Linked DNA regions of Homo sapiens: region 1 is linked to region 2. The links are contacts of gene promoters, found by promoter capture Hi-C in blood cells and fetal thymus (Javierre and others, 2016). All regions are on one chromosome and are shown on one strand. Each heading gives the region's core, a stretch centred on a gene start or on the middle of the fragment in contact. The rest is flanking DNA. Distances are from core to core; before and after follow the strand shown. Region 1 has its middle 160 kb from the start of MBOAT1. Region 2 holds the start of ID4 (inhibitor of DNA binding 4).

Evidence for each region. The method cuts DNA at HindIII sites, captures the fragments that hold promoters and counts their contacts. A CHiCAGO score of 5 or more calls a contact.
Region 1: a fragment that was not itself captured here is called in contact with the fragment with the promoter of ID4 in region 2 in 1 of 17 cell types (megakaryocytes); the score reaches 6.8 in megakaryocytes.

Annotation. Positions count from the first base shown.
Region 1 is chr6:20,053,513-20,058,984 of GRCh38, reverse strand. No RefSeq gene overlaps it. Among named protein-coding and RNA genes, the nearest start is that of MBOAT1, 160 kb to the left of the region's middle. The HindIII fragment of the contact is 1,998 bases long and covers 392-2,389 here.
Region 2 is chr6:19,833,440-19,838,658 of GRCh38, reverse strand. It overlaps ID4 (inhibitor of DNA binding 4), which reads right to left and starts at 1,289. Exons shown (of 3, transcript NM_001546.4): 1 at 464-1,289; 2 at 17-75. The coding sequence starts at 904. The coding sequence ends at 31. The HindIII fragment of the contact is 2,827 bases long and covers 1-1,996 here.

The DNA of each region.
Region 1 (5,472 bases), core at 141-2,640, 220 kb before region 2:
AAACTGTGTGGAGCCTCAGTTTCCCCCACTTCATGGTCAGCAGGCTTTTTAGAACAGAAAGAAATTTGACGGTCTCTCTAGGAACCATGGCCAGGTTCCCACTGTTAGACACACACATAAGGGTCTCAGATTCATCTCAGGCTTGGGCCTCCCATGTGGTAGCCGAGCCATCAGGCTGGCTGTGAAATGCCTTATTTTATTTTCTGCCTAACATCAGGTTGCAAATGAAAATACCTTTTCAACCCTAGTATTATTACCCCTATGGATGGCACGTTTAATGTGCGCTATTCATTGTTATAATGGCCGCACCTGTGTAGCACACGCACACTGGAACTGCAGCAGCTGTGGACTGTAATTGCAAAACATTATTTTCTGTTTCTCCCCGAAAGCTTTTGTGCATGTGCGCGTGTGTGTTATCTGTGTCCGTGTGTTTGTTTCATCTATAATGACTGTGGCCCAAAGATTCCCCATCCCTACCCCCCTTTTTAAACATAAAACTAAATGTAAATACACTTATTTCTAAATGCACATTTCAGTGAAAGTCAGATGCAACCCCCCATCCCTCCCCTACACATTCAGTAATGAGACTTCAGAGAGCTACTTCGGAGCGTGTGGTCTGTGGAAAGGTTCACGCAATCGCCGCTGCTGGGTGCAGTGGTCTTTATGCTCGTTGGCACACAGGCTCTCCCATGATTAATGCATTTGTTCCTTGATATTCAGCCCCTGCAGGACAGAGAATCAATTTAGCACTCACAGGCCCAGATTATCACCAGTACCAAAGACATTTCTGCACCAGGGGCTTCCCCATTCAAAACGAAAAGATATTTTTCTTTTCATTTTTTTCTTTTTTTAGAGACAGAGTCTTGCTCTGTCGCCCAGGCTGGAGTGCAGTGGTGCGATCTCGGCTCCCCGCAACCTCCGCCTCCCGGGTTCAAGCAATTCTCCTGCCTCAGCCTCCCGAGTAACTGGAATTACAGGCGCGCACCACCATGCCCGGCTAATTTTTGTACTTTTAGTAAAGACGGAGTTTCACCATGTTGGCCAAGCTGGTCCCAAACTCCTGACCTCAGGTGATCCACCTGCCTCGGCCTCCTAAAGTGCCAGCATTGCAGGCGCGAGACACTGCGCCCGGCCCAAACAAGATTTCTAAGAAGGATGTGTTTTTTTCCATTTGCCTCCATTGGTTCTCATGTCTGGTGGATGAGGAAAAGCACTGTCTGCGATTTGGTCAAAACAGTTGGCTTTTCTCCTTTCCGTGCACTTCTTTAATTTGCAGAGATGCCATGTAGCCCGCTGCTGCAATGACTGTGGGGGAAACCAAGGCAACGGTCTAGCACAGAATTGAGTTAACACCTTAGATCGTGCAGTAGGGCTCCTGGTCAGCCACCTGAAGGGCTGGAGAACAGAAGACAAGGCTATCAGCAGTGTTAGGGACATGCCGCAAGTTGGGGCTTCACCACCGAATTTCCCACCTGCGAAAACATGGATGAGGAAGACAGGGCTGTCAATTTCATCAGCCACATCCTCAGAAAAATGAATAGAGCTTCTCTGAGAAGTACTGCAGCTTTCCTCTAAGCCCTCGGCGAGATCCTGAATGAAGAGGGACATTGGGTTTATTGGACATTTAAACAGCGCTGAGAAGATCAAGTAATGCGGTCCTCATCCAGCAGAGCAATGAACTTCGTCGTCTTGCAGACTCCTCCACGTTGGAGACGCAAACCTCAGGCGTAAGCATGGGGAAGATGCTCAGTACTAAGTGGGCAGGCGCCTTCTTTGCACAATGCATAGCTCTTCACATAAAGCGTGTCCACCTTAACTGCCTTGCTTTATTGAAAACATTGGTAATGAGAATTGACTGATGGGAAGGGCCCACCCATTACGGTAAAGAAATGTGAGCATTTTACAAATTCTCAGGATATGAGCACAGATGTCTTTGTTTCTGAATGCTCAAAATATTACTGATGACCTTAAAATACATTGAAAAAAAATCAAATTCAAGACTATTTGGTTAGATGAATTTGAACCTATTATTAAAAGAGAGAAGTTGTAATTAAAAAAAAAACTGTAAAGAGAAAACCTGGTTGAGAGTCTACCCACCATTCTTCAAACCCTGTAAGAGTTAAGAAGTCCATGAATGAGATTTTTTAAAATCTGGTAAACTTTGTCAGTGTGATTATTTCTCTCTTGAAGAATCTGCTTAATTGGCAAAGTGGGCTTTCTGTTCTGTTAGGCATATGATTAGTGCTTTTATAGTGACTTGAGTTTTTGAGGCTATCAGTGCTGTGCAGGTAGAATAATAGAAAAGTCACAGCAAAATTATTTATTAACTCATGTAAACGAGTTTATAAATAAGCTGGAAAGCAGGGTTGTGGTGAATGCTTACTAAGCTTTTGTCCAGAAGGTGGCAACATTTCCTTAAGAATTTGGGAGAAAATGCTGGCTTCAGAAAATGACGATTTATCTTAGGACATTGTGTTCTGTTCTCTTTTCAAAGGTACAGCACAAAATGCACGTCCCCACACCCATGCTCCCTCTTTATTCTCAACAGATTCCAGGGAGAAATCTTGCCGTTTCTTCTCTTTATCTTTCTCTCTGGAGAGTAAATTTACATTGTTCAGATTTTCAAGCTGAGATGAGTTTATGCTGAAATGAATTTATGTAGCTGAAAATATTAGATTCTTAGTCTCCCCACTTCACTTCATCTCTCTGAAAGGTGGTGTTTTTGGAGAAAAGGGCCCATGTGAAGAGTCACTTACATTTCTAGCAGGTAAATCGGATGCCCACTCATAACCGTGAACGTGTCTTACTTTCTGAAAATCCCAACAAACCTCAAGATGACTATTTGCAGCGATAGCGCTTTGCTACACTGGATTGCTCTCTCGTTTCTTAATGTTTTGTTCATGCAAACATTAAGATCCAGAAGCAAGACAGAAGAGAGTGAGGACACTTGTTTGGGCTGAAGGAGTGAAAATAAAACAATGGATTAGGTTGTCCATATATGAACATTCCGAATCCTGCATGCAGCCCAGTGTCTTAATAGCAAGTTGGGGGAATCCTGTTCAGGAATTGGAAATGTTGGTTTGTTCATCTCTACTCCACCCCATCCCTATAGTCCCCCATTTCCCAGTATATTTTAATTTTGGGAAGCCATGGTGGTTGAAAACACACACATACATATACAAAAATGGGCCTGTTTTAAAGTAACTTTGAAAATTCATTACTTTACCCATGACTTTTGTTTCTGACTAGCATATCCATGTGTAACGTATTTCTTTCCTGGTTCAAAAAGAAAGTTGGAGTCAACTGTTAGAAAAGAAAATTTGAGTTAATTAAATATTATTTAGTTATCAAAATTGCTCCAAATTACAAAAAAGAATAAAATAACATTTTGTTTGTTTGTTTGTTTGTGTTTTTGAGACAGGGTCTTGCTCTGTCGCTTAGGCTGGAGTGCAGCGGTATGACCACAGCTCACGGCTGCTTTGACCTCCCTGGGCTCAAGTGATCCTTCCACCTCAGCCTTCTGAGTAGCTGGGACTACAGGTGAAATGTAATTGGGCTGCTGATTCTTTGTGTTTATGTATAATCTTAGGATCATGCCTTTCATGCTAGAAATGCATTCCTAGTAGATTTCTTACTAGCCAGTCTTGCTGTTCTTACTCGTGTTCTCTCTCTCTCTCTCTCTCTCTCTCACACACACACACACACACACACACACACACAGTTTCCAGTAGGACATGCACTTCACCTTCTTACCTCTGACTCAAGTATCCCCATTGCAATCCATAATCCATAATTCATAATCTCCCTTGTGCAGAGACTAGAAAGTGCCTTCTCCAAGGTTGGAGAAAGCACTCAGATGGCCCCATGTGCTCCACACGCCAGACATGAAAGCTTTCATTCCTTGTTTCTGTAGCCATCATGTGGCTGCTTCTCTCTCGGACCTCATGAGAAGACTTACTAGGAGTCTCTCTCCCTCCCCTCACCCTTGTACCCCTGAGTTTCTCCTCTCCCCGGCCCTACCTCACCACACAGCCAGTTGTTCCATTCCTGTCTCATTTCTGACAGAGCAGAAGAGCTCCCTGATCTGCCCAAGAGGTGGTGCATGTGTGGGATGACCCGGACCCGGGATGAAGGACGAGAAGACAAAATGTCCAGCTACCTAGGCACATCCACTTGAAGAATTTAAAAGCAAAAAATGTCTAAATAATGTATACACATGATGCATAATACATAATATAGTATAACATACGATACAAAATCACATGGTCAAAGGATTAAATTTTGTTTGGTTTTTTTGGAGATAGACTTTTGCTTTGTTGCCCAGGTTGGAGTGCACTGGTGCCATCATGGGTCACTGTAGCCTCGACTTCCTGGGCTCAAGAGAGCCTCCCACCTCAGCCTCCTGAGTAGCTGGGACTACAGGAATAGGCCACTGTGCCCAGCCAATTTTATTTTTTATTTCTAAAGAGATGGGGGGGTCTCCCTATTTTACCTAGGCTGGTCTCGAATTCTTGCCTCAAGTAATCCTCCTGCCTTGGCCTCCCAATGTGCTGGGATTACAGATATGAGCCGCTGCATCTAGCCAAAATTTTGTCTTTTTGAAGCCAGTAGCATCTTCTCCAAGGTTCAGAATATTTCGTCTATACATGTAGCTAATTGAGACTTCCTGAAGCTGCCGAACTCAAGTGGCAAATTTGCTCATGTTACACTTTTCTGCTCAAAGAAAACCAGGTCTCTTTATTGTTCTCATCTTGCACACAAGTCCCTGTCTGCTGGGTAGGTGCGAGGGGTTGGGGCAGTTAGGGCAGGGGACACCACCTAGTAAAATTCTAGAAACCTAGTCTGATGTGTAGTTGTGGCTCTGCCTCTTTGGATCTTTCAGATTTCCCACCCCTGGCTCTCACCACCCACCCCAGGTGGCACGCAATCTCTTAGCAGTGAGGCCATTTATGTCCTCACTGTCTTCTGAGACAGAGTGGTTGGCCTTTCCTGCTTCCTGGTCTGGTGATCATGGAGAAATGCTGGTTCCATCTGGCTTTGGACCATTTGTCCCTTTTCTTAAAGCCCCCACCTGAGAGCATCCTCATTCTAACCCAGCCTGTGTGGGTTCTTTATGCATCATCACAGTGAGGCATGTGGTTACCTGAGTCCCCATGCACGCTACTGGGACAGGAATGTCAGAAGACTCACCAGGTCACTCCTCTGATGAGGCTGTGCCTGTGTCCTGGGCCACGGGGAAGGCTTGCCACTACACCCTGCTATACCCCAGGAAGGTGCCACCAGCGGGTTCTCGTATACCTTGCTGGATTTTTTTTTTTTTTTTTTTTTTTTTAGGCAGAGTCTTGCTCTGTCACCCAGGCTGGGGTGCAGTGGCATGATCTTGGCTCATTGCAACCTCCGCCTCCTGGGTTCAAGCGATTCTTCTGCTTCAGCCTCCTGAGTAGCTGGGATTACAGGTGTGTGACACCACAC
Region 2 (5,219 bases), core at 40-2,539:
GGAAATGCGCGCTCACCTGGACAGCGCGGCTCAGCGGCACAGAATGCTGTCGCCCTGCTTGTTCACCGCGCCGGCCTGGAACAGCAACCGAACACCAAGGGAAAGGTTAGCAGGCGCAAACAACGCGCTCGACACGGTCCTGGATTGTCCTCGGAAATCAGGCTGGCGCGCCGACGCCCCCACCCCAGCCTGTAGCCGGGGGGGCCCCTCCGGGCTCAGGCGGGACTTGACAGCCCAGGGCGCCCACAGCCCCGAGTCCCGCCCTGCGCGTTCTCCCGGACCCGCGCTCGCCGAGCCCGGCCGGCTGCTGGCGGCCCGGGGGAGCCCGGAGGAGCAGGGGGAGGGGGCTGTCATTCCTGGCCCGCCCCTGCCCGGAGGACGGTGAGCGCCCGCGTCCCGCCACCACGCCACCAACCTCCCATCCCCCGCGGCGTCCGCCCACGGCCGGCGCCCGGCCTCTCACCGGGTCGGTGTTGAGCGCAGTGAGCGGGGTCCGCGGCGGCGCGGCTGGACAGGTCCCGGCCGGGTGGTGTGGCGGCGCGGGCGGTGGTGGCTGCCTCAGCAGGGCCGGGTGCGTCTCCAGCGCCAGCTGCAGGTCCAGGATGTAGTCGATAACGTGCTGCAGGATCTCCACTTTGCTGACTTTCTTGTTGGGCGGGATGGTGGGCACCAGCCTCCGCAGGCGGCTATAGCAGTCGTTCATATCGCACTGCAGGCACAGCGCCGGCTCGTCGGCCGCCGCCTCGGCCGCCTTACAGCGCGCTGCCGCCGCCGCCGCCGCCGCGGCTGCGGAGCCACCCAGGCTGTGGCCGTGCTCGGCCAGGCAGCGCAGCGCCAGCTCCCCGCCGCCGCAGCCCGACGGCGCCTTGCGGCCCGAGGGGCGCACCGGGCTCACCGCCTTCATCGCGCGCGCCCTGCGCTCTACGCGAGCGAACCCGCTGGGGCGAGCGAGGGAGGCAGGCAAGCTCCGGGCCCCGTCCGCGGCCGGCTCCGCTCCCTTTGCCTCCGCGCCCGGCGCGCTCGGGGCACCGCGACACTCCCGAGCCCAACAATTGACGGGAGGGTCGCTCTGGGTTTTACGAGGGAATCTTTGCTCAGTGGGCGACACTCAGCCCGAGCCCAAAGGAAAAAAAAAGCAAAAGCACCGGAAGAAAAGTAGCCCACCCGGGTGTCCTAGTCACTCCCTTCGGAGCTCCGACTAAGCCCGATCGCGGCCGCCGCGCTCCCCTAGCCCGGGATCACCCCACTCCCGGTACTACTCACAACCGCGCCTCCTCCACTACGCTCTCGCCCGGCCCGCCGCGCAGCTGTATTTATAGAGCCGTGCGCCCCGGGGGCGGGACCAGCGCGCGGGCCGGGTCGCAGCGCGAGCCGAGCGGAGCCCGCTGGGCGCGCGGGCGGGGGCGCGGAGGGAGAGGCGAGGGCGGGGGCTCCGGGCGGTGCTGGGGGGCGGGGAGTCCGGCTACCCGAGTGGAGGAGTGGGCGGGGGGTCTGGAGTGGCCAGCCAATCAGGCGGGCAGTGCCACCTCGGGGAATGACGCTCGGGCCAATGGGAAGGGCACTCCATTCCGTCAACGCTGTGGGTCGGGGTTCTGAGAAAAGAGAGCTGAGTGGGAGTCGGGCCAGGCTGATGTGTGCCCAAGGGAGGGGAAAAGAGAGAGCGAAGTTCCTGCGAAGAACTGCGGGAATGTGCGGCCGGAATTCACTCTCCACCGCCCCCCTTATCCCGACTAGGCTGCTGAGGGAGCGCCTGGGCCCTGCTCGCGGATACCCTGCCACTCCTAATAGCACGGCGCCCAGGGACCCTCCGCCACCCATCACTCCATCCGTGGGATTCCAGTGCCTTAAGAAAGACGCGCTGTTCAAGAAGGCACGTTCATTCTGTTCTATATTTCCCTCCTCCGTTTCATTATTCGCCTTTTCACATTTGCCGAAACCATAATGATGGAATGGAATGTGTAGCCTTTCCGTTTTCTTTTTAAAAAATGCTAAAGCTTAGCAAAAGTAGAAAAAAAAAGAAGGAAAAGAATGCCGAATCGAATGCAGGTTTTTGGTGAAGGGAATATAAATAAAACAAAAACGTGGGGGGGGTTCTTTTACCCCATCTAAATGCAAAAGTGGGCTCAAGAAATGCAGTTGCCTTGCGCATTCAATTAGAGCACGTAAAGATTAAAAATGCATGGACACGGAATATTTAAAATTCCATTATGACATATAATATTAATCTGTTTTATGTAAAATTCATACCTGTAACTTAATTTAGGCCATTAATGCACAGCTTCACGTATTAGTCAGCGTACCCCGCTTTAAATAAGGTGATGAGAATGTCCAGAGTCGCCTCCTTTGACAGCAAAGCATTAAAATTCACACTTCCAGTCTCTGGGATCCCGCTTGGGCCCCACCCTGCAAAAAAAAGCCTGTTAATTAAGGGCGTTTTTGTGTTAGATTTCTTAGAGAAAAGCTGTCCTTCAAGGGTTCAAAATAAAATTGCACAATGAGCTTTGGTGGAGCATTGTGTGTACCCTTCAAGAAAAAATTGAGCCCTTCAGATGAGAAAGGTGCATAAAAATTCTCAGACAATGGGGAAATGAATTTTGAGTGCCTTCACTCTACAAACCCTCCCACCTTTAGACACGCTTGGAGATGAATTAACCCAAGAATTTTCTTCATTCGTGTACATGACATGGATTGGTGTCTTCATTTTCATAGATAATTGAAAGAAAGAGACATGGACCTCATTTCTTCCTGTCTACCCCTATATGGACTTTTTCTACATCCATTCCCAGAACTGAAATACCTGCACCAGGCAGATATTTTGTTTAGCTATGTCAGTGCTTTATGACTATCGCACTATTCCCCAGAGCACATTCCTTTCTCCTGATGAAATGAGGAGCAACTATTTAATTCTGGTTTCACAGGTAGATGCAATAACCCTCCTCTCCCCTAATCCTTGTATGTTACTGCTTCTAATAATTGTTTGGAAACAAGTGCCATTCTCATTTATTTATGTGCATACGTAGATGGTCTACATACACATTAATCGAGAAAATCAGAATTATGAAACTCAGAAGGGCTTTCTTCTAAAGACAGGCATAGTCATATACATCATTAAATTAATGCAAATACAGAGAAAATGTTGTAATTTTAAATGGGAAGTCGGTGAAGCCAGCACTACTGGTTGTAAGCTATTATCTTGGAGCCAGTCATATGAGCACAGACGATAATAATAAATGGATATATGTACAGATGTTTTGTTCCATTGATCTTTCTCTTTCCTAGAGTTTAAAATTTGCTTCCAAATTCAAAACCCAAGACTTTCCTCTGTTTGGCAAAATAAAACTATGCTAATATGCCCAGGACACACTTACATTTAAACATTTTACATATCCTAACGATTAAAATTAAAATTTAAGTTTTGAATACGTAACACAAAGGAAGAATCATATCGACCTTTTTGGAATTTGCTAAATCTCAGAAAGCCATGCCTTGGGTGTGACAAGCGCCAAATGCCTAAGTTTCAGGTTTTGTTGGAGATGCTCTGTGTGACTGGCTTAAAGTTAGAAAGACTGAGTTACTCTGTGTGGGGTGGGGTGGAAGAGGTGGTTTCAAAGGAATGTACCTCAGCCACAAGATCAAGAATACCCAGGAAAGATGTGATCCGTAAATCCTGCTAGCAGAGTAGGCAGAGGCAGTTACTGTGCTCCTTGTTTTGAAGGTTGGAAGGCATGAAGACATTAAAAAATTAAAGTGCTACCATATACTATGGGAATAAGGAATACAATCCTGCACGTTTTGGTCCATGAAACCAGAGAGTACTAGGGGCTATGCAATGTATGTTTTTGTATTCTTAGACATAGACACTTACATGACATCAAAGCTGCAATCATGGAAGATTCCTGGCACTGATAATTCAAAACAGTTTACCCAATTATCACTCAGATTTTGGATAAACCTTACAAGCTATGTTATTTCTACTGTGCAGAGAAGGTAACTTAGTCTGTTGGTGACTCTTTTACATCAAAGTGTTTCACTTGCACTTGTAAAAGTAAAATGGGCTAACCCAAATCCTTTTGTCATGGAAATGCTCGAGACTCCCAAAATATACCTCAGTAGGAACCTAGAATGAAACATTCATAGGAGAATTGCTAGAAAGCCGTGATGACCAGAGTCATGGATACACCCTTCCTCCAGACAAAGAGGTCTGCTGTCCTCCCTGAGATGTATTCTAGCTACTAAATCAGGCCCTCACTGAACTGCAACACCCAGGCCTTTAGAAGTCATAGTCACCCTGTGTTTACATGAAGCAAGGGTATGGAAGCATATTGTGCTCTTCATTCCCAGTGCCTTTTTAGGACTTGATACTTGTTTCTCCATAGCCTCCAGGGAAACAGTGAGTGTACTCATACACAGATAAACGTGAATGTTCCAATGCCTTGGTCACTCTGTAGATTTGTCGTCACAGAAAGAGGCACATGCATTCTTTGAGGGCATAAGAAACCACTATGTACTCTGCAGCAGGACTGTCCCTTGCTCCCAAAGAGTAAGTTGGGCAATGTGGCAATTCAAGCTCAAGGCTGCTTTATCAGGCACTAAGTGTTACAAAATTACTTGTGCTACCCTTGGATTGCTGATACTAGTCCCGGAAATGCTGATAACCCCTTAGTTTGCTAGGTCCTGGAAAAGGCTTGTAGGAAGAGGACGTTGTACGTTGAACATGGCTGGGCAGATGTGGCTGTCAAAAATGCCTTGTTTGGGGAGTTTTAAAGGTAGTTGGTTTAAATAAGAAGTGACTTTTTGAAAGCCCCCCTTAGATTAAAAGACAGAAAAATGGGGAGAAATAAGTGGAATTTGTTTTTACCTTAGGAGATATAAACAGCATGGACTCTGAAGTGAGACAGCCTAAGCCCCAATTTTGGCCTCTTTGCTTATTAGTTTTATATCATTCAGCTGGGTTCTTAAATTCCTATACCTTTCATATTTGGAATGATTAAAATTGCATTTACTTCATAAGGTGTTTATGAGATACACATATTATATATATGGTCTCTGTAAAAGAAATTCAGTAAAGTTCTTAGAACAGTGGTTGGCACATAAGTGGGCAAACCATGTTACAATGTATTACCATTTTTGGCAAATATCTCTCAGTCTGTGGACTGACTTTTCATTTACTTCACAATCTTCTTTTAGAGCAGAAGTTTTGATTTTTTTTTTTTTTGAGA